Linked DNA regions of Homo sapiens: region 2 is linked to region 1. The links are contacts of gene promoters, found by promoter capture Hi-C in blood cells and fetal thymus (Javierre and others, 2016). All regions are on one chromosome and are shown on one strand. The core of a region is centred on a gene start or on the middle of the fragment in contact, and the rest is flanking DNA. Distances in the headings are between cores, read along the strand shown. Region 1 holds the start of LMBRD2 (LMBR1 domain containing 2). Region 2 holds the start of OXCT1-AS1 (OXCT1 antisense RNA 1).

Evidence for each region. Contacts are between HindIII fragments. The CHiCAGO score rates a contact against its expected background, and 5 or more counts as called.
Region 2: the fragment with the promoter of OXCT1-AS1 here is called in contact with the fragment with the promoter of LMBRD2 in region 1 in 1 of 17 cell types (non-activated CD4 T cells); the score reaches 7.2 in non-activated CD4 T cells.

The regions. Positions count from the first base shown.
Region 1 is chr5:36,149,183-36,153,745 of GRCh38, reverse strand. LMBRD2 (LMBR1 domain containing 2) reads left to right here and starts at 1,859. Exons shown (of 18, transcript NM_001007527.2): 1 at 1,859-2,190. SKP2 (S-phase kinase associated protein 2) reads right to left here and starts at 1,635. Exons shown (of 10, transcript NM_005983.4): 1 at 1,476-1,635; 2 at 704-975. The coding sequence starts at 1,483. RefSeq lists enhancers at 1,329-1,518, 1,592-2,575 and silencers at 1,789-1,928, 2,529-2,588. The HindIII fragment of the contact is 3,342 bases long and covers 1-2,245 here.
Region 2 is chr5:41,867,557-41,872,119 of GRCh38, reverse strand. OXCT1-AS1 (OXCT1 antisense RNA 1) reads right to left here and starts at 2,090. Exons shown (of 3, transcript NR_046635.1): 1 at 1,928-2,090; 2 at 1,738-1,829; 3 at 1-1,354. It overlaps OXCT1 (3-oxoacid CoA-transferase 1), which reads left to right and starts at 1,695. Exons shown (of 17, transcript NM_000436.4): 1 at 1,695-1,839. The coding sequence starts at 1,762. LOC102723752 (a long non-coding RNA gene) reads right to left here. Exons shown (of 3, transcript XR_925956.4): 1 at 2,518-4,563. RefSeq lists enhancers at 1,099-1,148, 1,979-2,058. The HindIII fragment of the contact is 3,584 bases long and covers 1,343-4,563 here.

The DNA.
Region 1 (4,563 bases), core at 610-3,109:
GGGGGATAGATCTGGGGAGAAGAAGGTTGGAATTATGAATCCACTCCAATAGTTCAGGCAAGAGACGACGAGAACTTGAGAAATAGTTACCAGAGAAGAGGGAAAGATGCGATGAATGACTGGATGTTGGGGGGCGGTGGGAAGCTGACTGACTCTCAGGTTTTCGGGTTGGGTGATTAAACAGATAGTGTCAGCAGTAATGGAGACAGAACATACCAGGAGAAGCCAATATGGGGGTGGGAGTGGGCCTGGGGAGATGTCTCCCCCACTTAGGTGAACGTTCACTTCGCAGTCCACTGATAAATAACTAAAGTGATTAAGGCAAAAAGATCACTCAGGGGTACAAAGCAAAAGGAATCCTACAAGAAGACCACTGTTTATGTTTCTGTTAAACGGTGAAACTGAGCTGGCCTTGAGGCAGGCAGATTCCCTTCTAAGGAAAAAGGCAGGAATGTCTTCTCATGGGTTAAAATTTTCAAGGTGATTATGCACCAGAACATACATATATATATATATATATATATATATATATCTACCAAGATTCCTGCATACTTGACGACTTGCCCTATTTTGTTGAAAAATAGCTTCAGAATTAGGCAATCTTAAAAGGAACCCATGCTAAAGATCTCTGAACAAAGGTTTCCCAACAACATAGCTAAATCCACCCTTTGCATAACTGACATTTTTACCCTCATGTCCTTACCTGGAAAGTTCTCTCGATTTAGCTTAGGCCTGCGGACAATCACAAAGTCTTTGTCACTCCCTTTGCTCTTCAGCCGTTTCCGTGGGGGGCTCTCCGGGTGGCCCAGGTTTGAGAGCAGTTCCTGGGGGATGTTCTCACTGTCGGGCTCCTCTTTCTCCAGGGCGGAGACCCCCATGCCTGACAGCAGTTCAGAAGTCTTGCTGGAATCCCATCCCCACGTGAAGCTGGTGGCAACGTTGCTACTCAGGTCTGGAATCTCCTGGAGGTGCTTCCTGCAGAAGTGCACAATACCCCCGGTTCCTTTCGAAAACACACCCATAAATAATTTCAAGGCAATTAAAGAAGCTGCAGTTTATGCATTGTAGGAAACCTTCACAGCAGCTAACAGAATCGCATTTTTTATGTGCCTGCGGCGAGTTACCAAGAAAACGAAGAAATGAAAAGAACAAATCGAGAAGGCTTTTTGACTTACGATCCTGCAGAAGGCCTCAAGAATTTCTCCCAGTGGAGGGAACAGACAAGGAGAGAGACAGGGCAATCATACACTGATTGAAAACGGTGGCAGAAAAGCCCAATTAGGGAAGCCAAATAAAACCACACGCTGATCCCCGCACTAAGGCATCCATCCATTCACACTTTCCCCAAGAAGGGGCTAAGCAACCATTCACTTAACAGCATTACTAACAATATTAGCCAGTAGCGATATTCGCGGCCTAAAAGAATTATTAAGAGGGTCCATTTCATGCTCTTCCCCTTTTTGCAATCCGTTTACCTGTGCATAGCGTCCGCAGGCCCGGGAGTTTAAAATACGTGCATTAACTGCAGAGCTGCTCGCCTCCCAGATTCCCGCTTTGGCGCGCGGCGGCTCCGAGCGTGCTGCTCGGGCCCCCAGCAGCCAGACCCGCTAAGCCTAGCAACGTTCCATCCCCACTGCGCGCGCAAGGCTCTACAGCCCGCTCTGCTTCGCGGCCGCACTGAGGCCCAAGGCCTGCTGGGAATTGTAGTTTCCGTCCCGCTTCGTAGTCCGACGGGCTCGCCCTTACTTCCTTCCCTTGCAGCTTTACCCGCCTTCGAGATACCCACAACCCCCCGCGGGAGCGGGACTGGTCGGCCCACGGGGTAGGCGGGGAGGCGGAAGCGGGCGGCGCTACGGCTGACTGGGAAATGTCAGCCGCTGGACTGTAGACGGATTTTCCTTTCTCGGGAGCCCGCAGGCCTTCTGGTGATCGCCAGCGCTGTCGTCTCTGAGCGTGGATCCCAGAACCTGGACAGCTGTGGCGGCCGCCGTTTCCCGGTCCCGTCCAGACGCTGTCTGGCGAGATCGGACGGTGAGCCTAAGGCGGAACGCGTGAGGCGCTTTTGAGTCTGGGGTCCGGGGCCGAGAGCAGGCGGAAAGAGAGGGGACCCGGCAGACCCCGAGTGGCCGCCGCTGCGGGGCCCAAGTCCTTGGCTGCTGAGTGGTGACAGTAGCCCAGCCCGCCGGCCAGGTGAGAGGCTGCGAACTGCTGGCGTCGCACCTGTTCGTCCTTTTGCCAGGAAGCTTCTTCCTCCGTCGGGGAGAAGGCGGCCCTAAGAATTGGGTCTGTGGACGGGATCCTTCCTTTATCTGTAAAATAACGCACAACAGCTAAACACGCCGTTGGAACGAGAGACAATGGTTTAATTTTAGGGGAGCCGGAGACCCCAGCGGGTCCTGTGTGGTGGGAAGGCTGCGCATGCCCTTGCAGCCTTGACAGGTCTCATAAATAGCAACATGGGAATAAATGAAAGGACTGTATTTTGCAACGAGCTTTACCCGTGCACGCAGGGGGCCTCCAGCAAAGCCATTTGGTTGCTTGCTGTCGCTCAGCTGGCTACGTGTGTTTGCGTCGCCGCCTAAAAGCGAGCTGCTTTCAGCCTATCTCTGCTGAGAAGAGTTTGGGGGCAGTAAGAGTAGGGAGCGTGACATATTCCAGGTACAATGACCATGCGAAATCCATTGGGCAAACTATACTACAACTGTGACCCCGGGAAAACAGTGGAAGAGGGAAGGGGGATGAATTCTAAGCCTCATAAAAATGAAGATTTATAAAGTTCATAAGGAAGCATAACAGCTTCATCGCATATTAGAATATTCAGTGATGCTGTATGACACACCCTCTGGTTTCCTTGAAAAAATGATTCGCTCTGTAGTGAAATTAAACCTCCCTTGTGCAGGTATATGCTTGTTTCAAGCTTGGTCCTTAGCTTGAAAAGTAACTGCCTCTTGAGGAAGGAATTCATGAACCTTTAGCTCGTTCTTGAAAGATGAGATTGGTGTAAAGAAGGGATCTGTTCACAACTTGGTTTTGATTGGAACTAGGTGCAGAATCCTAGGCTAAGCCGTTCATCAAACTAATGTTATATGGAAAGCATTTTAAAATGCAATATCCTGATGTTTTACAGAAAGTGACCTTTATGTTACTTTGGCTAAGGAGAAAGCATTTGCCTTTGTTTGAAGCTACGTCCTTTCCCTGAAGATTGCAACTCATAGGAGAAAATATTTTTGACACAAAAAATTATAGTTTCCTTCAGGAAAGGGAACAAAACAGAGAGAGCCTGTAAGCTAATGGAGGAGAAAGAATAAACAAAAATATTTAAGATGCCATAATGAGAATAAACAGTTTTGAGATGTAAAATAATTGGGAGAGCCCACTTCAGATATAGATCTCATAGATAGGAAGGTTTAATCGATGAGATGATTCTAAATTTAAAGATGAGAAATATCTTTGTTCAGTCTTGGTTTTACTAGGAGTTACCTGGGAACTAGAATACTTGCAACATCTGAATTAGTGAACACAAGATCCTCTCTAGGACTTCAGGGAGAGCCTGTCAGTTTTGAAATTCAGTTTGATAGTTTGCCCCGGTAACAGACATACTTCATCTTCCTAATATGGGAATAATTTTTTTTTGCCTTCCTTCTAATCATGACTATTGCCTTAATATAATAAATGCAAGTTTAAATTGGTACATTAGATTCTTTTTAACGTAAGGAATTGTGTCCATTGAAGACGAGATTAGTAGGTACATAGAGGTTGCTATCTGGTCATAAAGAACTGCATTGTGATTGCTACTGATGTATCTTATTTTTTCTGATTAATTTTATTTTTATTTTTTGAGAAGAAATTTCACTCTTATTGCCCAGGCTGGAGTGCAATGGCGCAATCTCGGCTCACCATAACCTCCACCTCCCATGTTCAAGCAATTCCCCTGCCTCAGCCTTCCTGAGTAGCTGGGATTACAGGCATGCGCCACCACGCCTGGCTAATTTTGTATTTTTAGTGGAGACGGGGTTTCTGCATGTTGGTCAGGCTGGTCTCGAACTCCCGACCTCAGATGATCCACCCACCTCAGCCTCCTAAAGTGCTGAGATTACAGGCGTGAGCCTCCGTGCCCAGCCGATTCTTACATCTCTTTAAAAGGAAGACGGTCCACCCTTCTTTGTTTCTCCATCCTGCTGTCTAGATGATGATAGGATTCCTGGAGTTCCAGCATCTGTCCTGGAACATAAGGATTAAAGCCACCTGCTAAGGATGTGGACTATAGAAGGGGCCTGGGCCTCTGATAATCTGCTAACTTGCCATAACCACCTATCTCAAGACTTACACGAGAAATAAATTCTGCATTGTATAAGTCTGTACTATATTGGACTTTTCTGTTATGTGTAGCCAAACTAATCTTGAATAATGTATTTCCAGAACTGATAGTCTCTGTGGTGGTGGCAGCTACCTGTTTACATAACCCTTATCACCCCCTAATGTATTTTTTTTAATTGCCTGTTTCTTCCCACTAGACTTTTTAAGGGCAGGGACTTTGCTTGGATTTTTCTATCTCCAGCCCCT
Region 2 (4,563 bases), core at 841-3,340, 5.7 Mb before region 1:
TAGGGTGATTTTCTCAGGAGACTTAGTCACATAGCATGCAACATTTAAAATGTGTCTTCCTCAGCCAAGAGCAACAAAGTGAGACCAGCCAAGAGTCAGTCATATGACCACCGGCAAAGTTGCCAATGCAGTTTTTCCATTTCATGTGCCCTGTGGAAGGGCAAAAGTGGAAAAGCAGACCCAATCGCAATGGGCAAAAGTGGAAAAGCAGACTCAATTGGAATGCTAGTTTTTTTCACATTGTGTAAGTTAAAGGTACAACAGCTGCTATATGCTAAATTATCACTAGTTATGGGACTTTAGTTACAGTACTTGAATTTCCCCCCAATCCAACTTCTTAAAATGTGTTGAAATACCAACTAGCAATAAGTTAATTTCTCCAGTGTAATTGAATAGTCTAACTTGGTATCTTACTCCTTAACTGATTTTGACTAAAATTATAATATTTACAGGAAAAAAAAAAGTTCAGAGTTAAAAGAATACCATGAAAGGGCAAATGATTTTATGGACAAACTTTGAACTGCATCTTCACTGTTCATTACCTTACTGTATTTGCTAAGGAAGCTAAGATCTCATTTAATTTTTGTGTGCTTTGCTTTGGTTCAAAACTAACATCACATTCTCAGAACTTGGTCAGGCCTTAATCAAATAAAATGCTATTGAGCTTCCACTTGGTCTTTCCACTCTGCTAAGTGCAAAGACAGTTCTGGAGAAATCAGTCGTGGCTCATGTCCTCAAGGAGTTGGTCAAAAGACAAGGCTTGGCGAATATGTACGTGCCATGTCAATGAACTGCTACAATGGAATAAACTTATAATAATGCCTAACATTTATTGACTCCTCATAATAAGGCCATAAACTTTGCATGAATTAACTCATAGAAACGTTATGACGTTGTATCACAAGCAATCCTAATTTGCAGATGAGGACACTGAGGCTTAGGGAAGTTATCTAACTTGCCTAAGGTTAAAGCAATATACTGCTTTTATGGTTGCATCTTTAGTAATCTCTGGGGTTGCTGGGACTCCAGTGCGAGAAAGAGCCCGAAATTCGCAAACTTGGATGATGGGGAAGAAAAGGTGTGCTAAACTCAGGTCACAGAGGTCCAGTCTTAATCTTGTTCCTCTGCAAGCCTTGTTGCTCACACCTCTTGACCGACAGTTCGAGGCAAGTGCTCACAGCAAACTTACTCTATGTAAGCCAAGGCCAGATGTGGGGAGAAGGGGCTGAGAAATGTTAGAAACGTGAACGCAGTCCAGGCGGGAGAAGAGAAGGGGGCCTCGAGGGGTGCCCCTATGCAGCCCACACACACGCCAGGCACTAACTTGGAAAAGCAACAAGCTTGGCGGGAGATCCTCCCGCGGCCGGAGGGCCCTGAACCCTAGGCCAAGACTCATCCACAACCTAGGGGGAGGCGGCCACCAGCGCCCCATCGAAGCTAAAGGGCTGACAGAAGGGCTGTAGCGGCAAGTGTGCGCCAACACAGCTGCACACGCCCAGACACCTGAGGCGCTGAGAGGAACTTCCCCGCGATCCGCCCCGGCTGCACAGAGCCTCTTCTCCCCGCCGGGGCCCCGCCCAGCCTCACTTCTTTTAAAAGCAGCAGCCAGCAGCGCGCCGGTGGCGTGCGGCTCGAAAGGCCGGGAGGACGTCATCGACGCGCTGTCGAGCCTCCAGCCCGCCCGGGTTTCCTTCGCAGTCGCGCACCGACGCTCAAACGCGCGCTCCAACCCGCAGCCTCCTCCTGCCTCACCGCCCGAAGATGGCGGCTCTCAAACTCCTCTCCTCCGGGCTTCGGCTCTGCGCCTCTGCCCGCGGATCTGGGGCAACCTGGTACAAGGTAAAGTGCGGGGGAAGAGGAAGGCCATGGGCAGGAAGAACGTGGACCAAACCCTGAGTGGTGCCCGCGTTTTCTTCTCTGCCCCTACCCGCTCTCTCCAGCCTGGGATCTGGCATCCGTGGCGCGGTGCCCTGGTCACGGACACGCGGCGACGCGTTCCTGGCCTCGCCGGCCCCTCGGATGACCGCCTTTGCTTGGTTCTGCAGTCGCTTCCCTGATGGAGCGAGACGCGATAAAGAAGCGCGCGGAGAGGCTGAGAAGGGGCGGGAGGACTCCTGGCAGCGCTCCCGAGCCCTTTGGCGCTCGTCGGCTTCCCTCCTGGCACCCGCCCTTGGATAGGGACTCTGAGGGTCTGAACGGGGGGAGGAGGGCGCCAGTATATGGAGGTTTAGGAGTGAGGCAACAGCGGGTAGGTTTGCGCCCCCGATGTTGGATCTCTGGGCAGAGGAACCTCTAGAGGCCCAGAACCTGAGGCTGGGTTAGCCATGGCTCTGCTCGAGTTCACCGGGGCTGGATGCCGGGTGCGGCGGGTGTGGAATGCCGCTCCCATCCTCTCCTCCCTATTTGGCTCTGCTGCCCCGTAGACTGGAGCGCTCGCCAGGGCGTCTTGCCGGCCAAGCTGGGAAACCATCCGAGGTGTGTCCCTGGCCCGCGCCTGGGCTGCAGGGGAGGACAAACCTTTCTCTCGAGGCCCCTCGTATCCGGGTTAGGGGCTTTCGGTTTTCAGAGCCCTTTGAAATCCTTTTTGTGCCCCACTGCCGACTCTCCACCGAGTGGTATCCGGAGGCATTCCCACCGTGGACTGACTTGTGGTTTTGCCTTATGCACTGTCCTCGCTTGTAAGCCCACCCCTGTCTGGAGCCCTAGGAGCGAATTACAGGACCAGAGCGCCAGGTCCAGGAGGGTGGCTTTATCCCCGCCGTCTCAATCGCGGGAGCCTCTTCCTTGGTATTCAGTAATAGGTCTGAGCTTGACAGCGTGCCATGCACACGGTGCTTACTCCTGAAGCGTGCCTGCCTGGCCCCATTGCTCTTTCCTGCATCCAATCCCTGACCGCTGAGAACACAGAGGAGCCACTGAGCTCCTTCGGTAGGTGCTAGGGAATGGTTCAGAACTGGACCATTTTACTCTTAAATGCCTCTTAGGAAGCATTTTTATAACTGCAGATAGACTTGGATATATAAAGCATTATTAAAAGGGAACTTGACCTTCAGTGAGATTGCAGCGGTGCTGAAGCTAATACAAACCAGAGCACAGCGATACCCTTGGGCCGAGGTCAGGAACGTTCCTTCTTTTGACAGTTACTGATTTGCCCAACTGTAATTTACTCACTTCAAGTCTTTTCCATCTTGAGTATATCATTAAACCATTTCCGAAGCTCAGCAAACCTCATCTTAGAGGGACGAGATGCAAATAAGGGGTTCTGCTATATCTCATTAAAAGTTCATACAGAGTTCAAACTTAGCCCTGTCAGGCTTGATTATCATAGGTCTAACTCCTGCCTTCCACTATTCCCCTAGCTTGTGGCTCTTAGTGCCCTTATTGTTTTTTTTTTTTTGAGACGGAGTCTCGCTCTGTCGCCCAGGCTGGAGTGCAGTGGCGGGATCTCGGCTCACTGCAAGCTCCGCCTCCCGGGTTCACGCCATTCTCCTGCCTCAGCCTCCCAAGTAGCTGGGACTACAGGCGCCCGCCACTACGCCCGGCTAATTTTTTGTATTTTTAGTAGAGACGGGGTTTCACCGTTTTAGCTGGGATGGTCTCGATCTCCTGACCTCGTGATCCGCCCGCCTCGGCCTCCCAAAGTGCTGGGATTACAGCCCTTATTGTTTAGCACTTTAAATCCTCACCTGCTGCTTCTGTTGAACTGTACCACTTATCTACTTGTTTAACTTTTCAGATGTGTATATTGTCTCCTCAACCAGATGACAGTTCCCCGATGGCAGAGACCATATTTATGCCTTACACTTAGTCTCCCTCAACAAACACACTACTCTGCATAGATCAGATATTCTACACATGTTTAAAGTACGGATGAGAGAACCCTCCAGGCAAACAGAAACCTTGAGTTTTTCCACTAAACATAACTAACAGCTAAAACGAGATAGTTATTTTCTTAAATGTTTAACATTTTTATAATGGGCAGGCCCAGTGTCTCGCAGACCTGAGAGTGCATCAGCATTACCTGGAGGTTTTCTAAAACAGATTGCTGTACCCACCCCCAGAATTTCTAATTTAATAGGTCCTGGGTGGGGCCCTAAACTTTGCATTGATAAGTTCCAGGTGATGTTGATGCTGCTGGTCTGGGGACTGACTGCCCCTTTCAGAGTTATCTGGCATGGACTTAGGTGAAAATAGACTATTGGGAGGTATCTTCTTTTCTTCATTATTACTGAGGGGCAGTGGGGAGCATTTAATACTATTTTCACTATAGAAAATTATTAGTGGGAAAAAGGTTATAAGAGTACCACTAACACTTTACCCACCATTCATCCTTGACCCTGTCTTTTCCCAAATCTCTTTCCAACCTCTGACTCTCCTGAGCTGCAGTCCTTCTGGTGCAACTGGTGAACTTCACTTGGATGTCAGTTGGTGCTTAAAGCTCTTTCTGATCCAAAGCAAACTAGCCATAAAGTGGCTTTCCCATTCCTTGTTTTGTTCTTCTATCACTGTGCTTAACAGCACCAGTATCCATCCAGTATATAAGCTGGAAATCCTGGAACCATC